Regions from separate parts of the Homo sapiens genome. Here region 1 is linked to region 2. Evidence: promoter capture Hi-C in human tissues and cell types (Jung and others, 2019). All regions are on one chromosome and are shown on one strand. Each heading gives the region's core, a stretch centred on a gene start or on the middle of the fragment in contact. The rest is flanking DNA. Distances are from core to core; before and after follow the strand shown. Region 1 has its middle 130 kb from the start of SYT6. Region 2 holds the start of AP4B1 (adaptor related protein complex 4 subunit beta 1).

Evidence for each region. The method cuts DNA at HindIII sites, captures the fragments that hold promoters and counts their contacts. A contact is called where the count stands out against the background at its distance.
Region 1: a fragment that was not itself captured here is called in contact with the fragment with the promoter of AP4B1 in region 2 in 2 of the 25 tissues and cell types used here (mesendoderm cells and thymus).

The regions. Positions count from the first base shown.
Region 1 is chr1:114,280,946-114,286,001 of GRCh38, reverse strand. No RefSeq gene overlaps it. Among named protein-coding and RNA genes, the nearest start is that of SYT6, 130 kb to the right of the region's middle. The HindIII fragment of the contact is 3,767 bases long and covers 1-3,284 here.
Region 2 is chr1:113,901,925-113,907,286 of GRCh38, reverse strand. AP4B1 (adaptor related protein complex 4 subunit beta 1) reads left to right here and starts at 2,488. Exons shown (of 10, transcript NM_001253852.3): 1 at 2,488-2,682; 2 at 4,425-4,649. The coding sequence starts at 2,570. DCLRE1B (DNA cross-link repair 1B) reads right to left here and starts at 1,961. Exons shown (of 4, transcript NM_022836.4): 1 at 1,512-1,961; 2 at 126-291. The coding sequence starts at 1,700. RefSeq lists enhancers at 2,073-2,122, 2,153-2,712, 2,793-2,852. The HindIII fragment of the contact is 11,361 bases long and covers 1-5,362 here.

The sequences.
Region 1 (5,056 bases), core at 152-2,651, 380 kb before region 2:
CCGTTTTCTCATTTGTAAAATGAGGATAATAATAATGCCCACTTCTTGGACTTCTTGAAAATGAAATGAGAATCCTATAGTCTAATGCACTTGGCCTGATACATAGTAAGTTGTCAAAAAATGTGAGCTACTGTTATTATCAAGCATTATTTACTTATATTCAGTCCCCAGCTGAATAATGGGAGAGAACTTCATGGCTAATGTAAAATTGGACTTTGACCACACCTACTTAGAGGGTTGGCACTTCTCCCTCCAGAAAATAACGGGACCTCATACAATTTATTCTAAGTAGAACAACTTAAATATAGTTTATAGAAATGGGATTTGGGAGCAGACAGATTTGGACTCGAACACCAGCTCTGTCACATGTTGCCGTGATCTTGGGCAAGTCACTTAGCTGTTGTGGGCCTCATCTGTGCAGTGGGTATTTGCACAGTAATACCGAGTTGTGAGAACATGATGTAAGCACAGGATTCAGGAGAGTGCCTGGCACTTAGTGGGATCTCAATATCTTGTCCCTCTCCCCTTTTCTTAATAGCCATAATAGACATTGATAGAAGAATTAACATTTGCTTAATGCCTACTGTGTGCCATGCACTAGTTAGGATTTTATAATCTTACATAATCTCCTGTATTCATTAAAATGATGTAAAGTATATATCAATAACACAATTTTGTGGATGAAAGAACTAAGTTCAGAAAATTTAAGACCTTTTTCAAAGTCAATAACTTGACTGCAAAAGTCCATGCTATTCCTCCTTCCCACTGGCTGCACCATCTCAGATCTCTGGACCAGCAAACACTATACACTATTCTCCTCTAAAGGAGAATACCTAGTTTCACCTCTAGTTCCAAATGTTGGTAATTAAACCAGAACCAGCATGAAGGAGTTGTTGTTTGGAACTTTTACCATAAGCCTGCAAGACACTTAATGTTACCAGCACAGCCCCTGGTAAGGGGAATATGGTTTGTTTCCCTCCAACCCCTAATTACTGTGACTTCCAAGACATACTCATCCTTGCCAAAGCTTCTCTCTAACTCTCCTCTTATCAACACAGTGATGGGCCTCTCTAGTTGATCCCTTAGGGGTGGAAGATAGGGGCACAGAACCTTGCTGTCAGGACTTTAGACAATGGTTCACAGGCTATCACTGATGAAAGTTTAGTTGGCAATCCAGGGCAGTCTTCATCAAGAAGAAAGATGGAAAGGTAGCCCTCTGTAATAACCACTAGCTGTTAAATTTGACCACCATCTGAAATTGATAATCCCAGACTAGCTGGATCAGTTATGGTCAACTAAAATTTATGTCACAGAGGAGCCCCTGGGAATGGTGCAGGGCAGCAGGTGTGGGAAGGTGATGAGCACAGGACCACATCGGAACCCAGGCAGGTCGTTCCACACTCCCAGCATGGTTGCAAGACAGAAGCCCCAGACAATGTCTTTTCAAAAATAAAGATACCTTTATTTTCTTCTGATTTTAAAATAATGCATGCATATCATTATTATTTTAAAAAATCAGACAATATGAAAAGGCTTAAAGAAGGAAATGAAAATTCCACTCTTAATTCTGCCACCTGGTGATAACATTCTGTGTAAATCCCTCCAGACTTTTTTCTGTTCTAGCCCCCCACAATTGTTCTGAAAAAAAGCAACCTTTCCAAAAGCATATAGATTGATGTTGCTATATTTAATGGAATTATGATATTCCATTATACAGATGTGCCATTCCATTATAGAGATTCCATTATAGAGGTGTAATATTAAATATAGCCATTCTTTTCTTTTAAATTGTTTCCAATTTGTCATTATTATAAACAAAGCTGTAACAAACACCCGGTACATTTTTGGTATTTCATCCTGTGGTTAATCCTGACACTGAAATTCCACAAGATTTCAGGAATCTCAATATCACTTATGTATAAATACTTAAGAAATTATGGCTGAAATATTCATTTATTCACTCATTCACTCAATATATGTACACGTGTATATATATATGTGTGTGTATGTATATATACGTGTATATATATACGCGTGTGTGTGTGTGTGTGTATATATATACGTGTGTGTGTATATATATATATACACACACACACATATTGGGTGACCATGATGTTCCAGACACAAACCTATGTTCTGTGGATATGCAGTGAATAAAACAGGCAAACTCTCTGCTCAGAACACTCACATTTAAAGAGGGGAGACAAATGATGAAATAAATGACAGTGTGTTAGAAGGTTGCAAATGTTAAGGAGAAAAATGAGGCAGAAAAGTGTGGTTTTCTCTTATAGTCATTCAGTATTTGTTCCCTGTTCTCTGTCATCATCATGCTATTTAGTTTTTCACTAAATGCCTGTTAAGTCCCTATGCTGTGCCATAAACTGTGCTAAGTATTGGGAATGGGGTGGAGAGTTGTGTGGAATATGCGCCCTAGCATGGACAAGCCCACATGTCATCATTTTCTTGCTCGTGACTTCACCATTTCATATGTGTATATTTTGTCTTCACAACTACATTAAAAGGTCTTAGCGGGTAGGAATCCGTCCATATTCTTTGTGTTCTCCTGAGCTTTTAGTGTAATGTTTTTGTACAGAGTTAGTGTTCAATAAATGCTTGTTCCATACTTGTGACATAGAAATAATGCAAGTGGTTTTGAGAGATGGAAAACTGGGTTCTGATAAGCCAAGAAATGGGTAAAAAAAAAAAAAAAAAGCACTGATTAATACCCAAGGTTAATGAGAAAGCTAGCTATTTAGCTCATAGAATTGGCATTTAAAAAAACTCGTTCTAAATCATGTGCCATCTAATCAAATATAGTGATATAAGTATAGTAAATATAGTAATTTTAGCAAATGTTGTGCAAATCTGGCTGAATAAGTAATACTATTTTTTTAATAGAAAAACACAAACCAAGCAGAGAAGCATGCTGGGTTTTAAGCCGGCTCTGTGTGGCTCATTTACGCTGTACCCACATCCTACTAACACACACCCAACTCTGCCTGCAGGGGGAGCTCCAGCACTCATTTGAGTCCCAAGGCCTTAGTTGCAAGGGACTGTCAACCCTCCCAGCAGTACTCGGTTTTGAACTCTCTCCCATCGTCCTGGCTAGCAACCAGCTGTTTGATCTGCCATTAAAAACAACAATAACAACAACAACAACAACAACAACAAATTTTTGCTATCCAAATGTAGGTAACTCTAAAAGTATGAAGTAGTTCAGAGTTACGACTTCGGCTTTAGAGCTATCATGATTGAATACCTAATATTTGTCAGGGATTGTGTCCTGCATGTTACATATATTATTTCTAACTCTCAAAACAAACTTGCAAGAGGGGTCCTATTATCCTCACTATTACCCTATGCAGACAAGGACTCTGCAGCTGAGAGAAGTTAAGGAACTTGCCTGAGGTCACAGTGTCAGTGGTGGAGGCAGGTCTGCCTAAATTAGGGCCTAAGCACTTCTACCTTGCACTCTGCTCTCTGTAGCTGCCCTTATTTACCTGTTTATTACTTGTTACTATCATCATTATCATCAGATTATTGTTACAGTTGATGTCTTTCTGGCAGAGGCAGTGCAGTTTTTTTTGTGTGTGTGACCTGGGCACACTTTGTTTTTTGACATGGTGCCTTGCTCTGTTGTCAAGGCTGGAGTGCAGTGGTGGGATCACAGCTCACTGCAGCCTTCACCTCCCCAGGCTCAGGTGATCCTCCAACTCCCTGGGCTCATGTGATCCTCCCACTTCAGCCTCCTGAGTAGCTGGGACTACAGGCGCATGCCACCACACCTGGCTAATTTTTTGTAGAGATGGGGTTTTGCCATGTTGCCCAGGCTGGTCTCAAACTCCTGGGCTCAGGCTATTCTTGCAACCCCCGAGATGTGGTTTGGCTGTGTCCCCACCCAAATCTCACCTTGAATTGTAGCTTCCATAATCCCCACGTGTTGTGGGAGATAATTGAATCATGGGGGCGGTTTCCCCCATACTGTTCTCGTGGTAGTGAATAAGTCTCACAAGAGCTGATGGTTTTATAAGGGGTTTCCCCTTTTGCTTGGCTCTCATTTTCTCTTTCCTGCTGCCATATAAGATGTGCCTTTCACCTTCTGCCATGACTGTGAGGCCTCCCTAGCCACGTGGATCTGTGAGTCCATTAAACCTCTTTTTCTTTATAAATTACCCAGTCTCGGGTATGTCTTTATCAGCAGCGCGAGAACAGACTAAAACACCCTCCTTGGCCTCCCAAAATGCTGGGATTATAGGTGTGAACCACCGCACCTGGCCTGTTTTTTAATTTTAAGACTAGTTTTTTAAAGAGTAGTTTTAGGTTCACAGCAAGACTGAGAGGAAGGCTCAGAAATATCCCATACCTTCTTCCCCGAAACATGCACAGCCTCCCCCATTATCAACATCCCCCACCAGAGTACACCCTATACAGAGTACACCAGAGTACACTGTCATATCGTTATCACCTAGTGTTCATAGTTTACATTAGAGTTTACTCTTGGTGTTGTACATTCTATGGGTTTGGACAAATGCATAATGACATGTATCCACCATTATAATATCGTAGAGAATAGTTTCGCAGCCCTAAAAATTATCTGTGCTCCACCTATTCATCCCTCCCTCCCTGTAACCCCTAGCAACCACTTTTTTTTAACTGTTTCCATAGTTTTGTCTTTTCCAGACTGTTATATAGTTGGAAATGTACAGTATGTGTAGTCTTTTCAGATTGACTTCTTTCACTTAGTCATATACATTTAAATTTACCCATGTCTTTTCATGACTTGATAGCTCATTTATTTTTAGCCTTGAATAATATTTCATTTTCTCGATGTACCACAGTCTATTTATCCACTCACCTACTGAAGGACAGCTTTTGACAACTGCAAATAAAGCTGCTATCTACATCTGTGTGCGGGATTTTGTGTGGACATAAGTTTTCAACTCCTTCAAGTAAATACCAAGAAGCATGATTGCTGGATTGTATGGGAGGATTATGTTTAGTTTGTACGAAACTGTCTTCTAAAGTGGCTGTACCATTTCCCATTCCCACCAGCAAT
Region 2 (5,362 bases), core at 1,239-3,738:
CAGGAGTTTGAGACCAGCCTCGGCAACACTGCGAGGCCCCAGTCTATACATTAAAAAAAAAAAAAAAAAAAAAAAAAAAAAACATCTAGTCTGGAGAAGTCACTGGGATTCCTTGAGAGGCCCACCTGTGTAGAGGATGGTTCCAAAATATCCTTCAAAGAGAAACATGACAGAACCAGGACAGTGATTGGCATCGAGGAGGGTTACGGTCATGGTCTCTTGTCCAATTTCATCTAGGGGTAATACATGGCTCTCACCAACCTCCAGGGCTTGGATCCATTGCTTAGATACCTGAGAAAACAGTTAGTCATCCCAGTGACCACTGACTCCTCTCCGTTACCTCCCCGGGTCAGGGACTATCCCTTACATGAATCAGGAAAGCTGACCAAATCCTGAGCCACCGGGAGCAGAAGCTGTAATGGGGATTCCCAAGCAATCTGCCCTTCCTCCTTCCACTTCCCATCCCACCCTTTGTACAATTTAAGAGTTCAGCTGGCCGGGCGTGGTGGCTCACGCCTGTAATCCCAGCACTTTGGGAGGCTGAGGCGGGTGGATCACGAGGTCAGGAGATCGAGACCATCCTGGCTAACACGGTGAAACCCCGTCTCTACTAAAAAATACAAAAAAAATTAGCCAGGCGTGGTGGCGGGCGCCTGTAGTCCCAGCTACTCGGGAGGCTGAGGCAGGAGAATGGCGTGAACCCGGGAGGCGGAGCTTGCAGTGAGCCGAGTTTGCGCCACTGCACTCCAGCCTGGGCGACAGAGCGAGACTCCATCTCAAAAAAAAAAAAAGAGTTCAGCAAACAGTCTAGTCAGCAATTCCCAAACTTACTCCTGATCTTAATCTCTTGGAGACTTAAGGGTGGGGTGGGGAGAGAGCTGGAGAACCACCCAGCACATTAGGTGGATTCTTAAGATGAGGCAAGTTTAGGCGGGGCGTGGTGGCTCACGCTTGTAATCCCAGCACTTGGGGAGGCTGAGGCGGGCGGATCACTTAAGGTCAGGAGTTAGAGAACAGCCTGGCCAACATGGTGAAACCCCGTCTCCACAAAAAATACAAAAAATTAGCTGGGCGTGGTGGCGTGCGCCTGTAATCTCAGCTACTCAGGAGGCCGAGACAGGAGAATCGCTTGAACCCGGGAGGCGGAGGCTGCAGTGAGCCGAGATTGCGCCACTGCACTCCAGCCTGGGCAACAGAGCGAGACTCCGTCTCAAAAAAAAAAAAAAAAAAAAAAAAAAAAGGCAAGTTTGGGAAACATCGGCCTAGCTTACTTATAAAGGTAGGAATAGTTTCCTTGGCTGGATTAAAATATCTCCTCAACTTATGGCTAACTATCTCAAGTTGGTCACTTCGAAAACACGTTCCTATTCTGGGTTAAAGATGCATTTTTGGGTTCAAACAACTTCCAAATCAGTTTTCGTGGCCCCCATTCTATGACTCCAAGAATGACAGGTTGAAGTCCCAACCCAGATGCCTGGACCAGCTCTCGGAGACCGACTCCAGCCCCATACCTGTAGGTGACGATGCAAGAGGTGGGCTGTAATTGGGGAGCAGTAGAGGGGCCGGGCCCAGGTGCTAGACAGGCCCACGGTGTGGTCCGAGTGCATGTGAGACAAGAAGAAGAGACGTGCGGTGCCAGCCCGGCGCAGGCTCCAGAAGTCCACTGCGATGGGCGTATGGGGGATCAGGACCCCATTCATGGTGGTAGGGTTGGAGTCACCAGTGGGATCTTCTCCACGGGGGCAGGGCTCCTGCGTGAGGCTTCCACAACGGCGTCCCGATAAAAGTCATGCTGGGGCAAGAACAGGGCCAGAGACCCTAAGGGAAAGAGCCCAGCAGAGCAATAAGTTACCAGAGTGGGCAGAAAAAGGAAGTCACCCTGCCCGCTGGAGCCCAAATCGCGGAGGGCGCTGGACACTCCCAACCGCGCGGGAGCGGAGGCCGAGCCGGGCACTCAAAGCGCGCGCTGCAGGGAGGAGACAGGCCAAAGTAGCCGATTTCCGATTGCCCGCCGCAGCTCCACCAGAGGGAGCCGCGCAGCTGCGCCTGGAGAGTGAGAGGTTGGGGGAAGGGCATCCTAAGGTCGGAGTCGGGACTACGCTTAGCGCTCGCTCGCGGGGAGACCGGCAGCGGTCTTCTGTTTGGTCTCTTGACAAGGGGGCGGGACTTCCGCAGAAAGCAAGATTGGGCCTATCCGCGATGAGAACGGCGTGGAGGGGGAATTAAGGCTGGAACTGGAGAGGGAGGGGTCTGCGGTCAGTCGGACGCGGCGCTGGAAATCCGGCGGAGGACCTAGAAGTAGCGGGAGCGATCTGTGGGCGGGGCGAACGGCCTGCCGGCCGACGGTAGGGCCTGAAGAGCCTAGGGTGGGGCTCGCGGTGTCGCGGAGGGCGTGGAAGTGTGTCAGGGCCAGCGTGCCGGCCCTACGGAAGCCGAGCCTGAGGCGAGATCTCGCCTTTTGTATTTTCACTGACTCATATTTCCTTTACTCAGGCTCCCACATCAGGACGAGAAGGAGCCCTCGAGTTACCGTGGGAGCTGTGGGAGCTGCCCTGTGACTCTTAGGAAGATGCCGTACCTTGGCTCCGAGGACGTGGTGAAGGAGCTGAAGAAGGCTCTGTGCAATCCTCACATTCAAGCTGATAGGCTGCGCTACCGGAATGTCATCCAGCGAGTGATTAGGTATCACCTACCTCCCTTCGCGTGCTAACTGCTCCCTTTGCAATCCCCATCAGGGCTCACTAGCCCCAGTCTCTCTGAAAGGGTGAATTAGCTTTCACACGTGGCAGTTATATGGTTCGGTCTTCGTCCTGCTGCTTTGGAGTACCATGTCAGTCTCCCCTCTGCAGCATCTTTTACTCAGCTGGGTAGTTTCCTCCATATCACGGGCTTGAGCAATTACTGGTGACTCTTGGATCTATAATATAGCTAGTACAGACTTCCTTTTTTAGCTTCAGACCCACGTATCCCACTGCCTGCTTGGCATTTCCACGTGCGTGGTTTATCAAAAGTATGTCCGAAATAGCCCGGACATTCTTCCGTCTTCCTCAAACCTGTTCAGCTTACATTTGTGTTGATGAATGCCACCAGCAGCCGACTATGCGTGGGAGCCAACCTTGAGGACACCTGATCTCTCACTTCTTATGTCAGATGGTTTGAATTCATAATTCTAAATATCCATCCTCTCTTGTTTATTAGCATTGTTGTTCTGGTCCAGGCCTTCATCAATAAAGCAATTGCAGCAGCTTACTAGTAGGCCACTTTGCCTCATTTGAGACAGAATTTTTCCATTATACATACCTGAACACATAACTCTTGCCTACAGCTATGGTTCACAAACTTTACTATGCATAAAAATCCCTTGGGGTGCTTTTTGTCATCCAGTCCAGGGACTGATTCTGATTTCAGTAGGGTGGGAGGGAACCCAGGAATCTGTATTTTTAATAAACATTTCAGTTGGTTCCAGTAGGAGACCAGTCTGAGAAACAATAAAGTCCAAACTTATCACAGCACCCAAGGAACAAGCTGTTAATTCAACTACCTACAGACTCTTAAAAAAATGTGTGCTGCTCCTGCTCATGTCTACTTACCTCATAGCATGTATCTTTACCTTGCTATTACATCTGCCTAGTGAGCTCCTGCTCATTCAGCTAAAGTATTACTTCCTCTGTGAAGAAACATTTTCTGACTTCCTGCCAGTGTCAGACCTCTGAATCCCCTCTACACCTTGTACAATACTTCTGTTTAAGTACTTATCTATCATACTGTAATTAACGGTATTCTCATCTGGCTCATTAATAGATTTGAAGTTCCTAGAGGTTTGAGACCACACCTTCTTCAAGATTATGTCCCAAGAGCATGTCCCTGGATGTAAAAGTTGAATTTCACCAAAGTACTAGGGATTCAATAAGTGTTTGTTGAGGCTGGGTGCGGTGGCTCACGCTGGTAATCCCAGCACTTTGGGAGGCCAAGGCGGGTGGATCACCTGCAGTCAGGAGTTCGAGACCAGCCTGGCCAACATGGAGAAACCCCGTCTCTACTAAAAATACAAAAATTAGCTGGGCGTGGTGGCACGCACCTGTAGTCCCAGCTACTCGGGAGGCTGAGGCAGGAGAATCGCTTGAACCTGGGAAGCGGAGCTTATAATGAGCCGAGATTGTGCCACTGCACTCTAGCCTGGGTAACAGAGCAAGACTCTGTCTCAAAAATAATAATAAGTGTTTGTTGAATGAATAGAAGAATAATGTTTATTGTAGGCCTATGGTATGAAGTACTGTGTGATATAATAGACAAGGTAATCCTGGCTGCTACCCTCTAAGAGATCACAATCTAGTTGGGTAATCAGGAGATATGTAAGTAAAACTCCCTCCATTGTAAGTTGGGGATTTTGCATTTTACTTCCTTCTGTCATGTGCGTTGTTCAGGTACATGACTCAAGGCTTGGACATGTCTGGTGTTTTTATGGAAATGGTGAAGGCCAGTGCCACTGTAGATATTGTCCAGAAGAAGTTGGTTTATCTGTACATGTGCACATATGCTCCCCTGAAACCAGATCTGGCTCTCCTGGCCATCAATACGCTGTGCAAAGACTGCTCAGACCCCAATCCAATGGTGCGAGGGCTGGCGTTACGGAGCATGTGTAGCCTCAGGTGAGTACCCTCTTCTCTGTCTGGTCCTAAATGGCTGATGAATTCAAGTGATCACAGGGTAGGTTTTTAAAGAGGATAATTTATTTGAGCTCCTTAATACTGGGGAAAACATTATTGTACCCTGAACTCAGATTTTCAGCCACTGCTTTGGCTTAATAACCTGTATCATATAATTTTATTAGAGGGAGTTTTTGATTCTCACTCTAAGTAAAATAGTCCTCAGTTTTGGTTAAATATCTCTAAACAATTATGTGTATATCTTTTTTTGCTGCCTGTGCATCATTATTCCAAATGAAAAGTCAAATTAGGCTGGGCACAGTGGCTCATGCCTGTAGACCCAGCACTTTGGGAGGCTTAGACAGGAAGATTGCTTGAGCCCAGGAATTTGAGACCAGCTGGGCAAGATGGTGAGAGCCTATATCTACAAAAAATTAAATGGGCATGGTGACACGCACCTGTAGTCTCAGCTACTAGGAAGGCTGAGGCAGGAGGATGGCTTGGGCCCGGGAATTCAAGGCAGCAGTGAGCTATGATCGGGCCACTGGGTGACAAAGTGAGACCCCATCTTGAAAAAAACAAGAAAAAAACAGAAAAGTCAAATTATGGCTTTTTAAGCTTGATAGAGGCTTTCTGCAATTCTTCATGATCTGATGGGTGCAGCATCTACTAAACCATCTGTTAGGTGAACAGGGGCTGAGGTATGTCAAAATTAG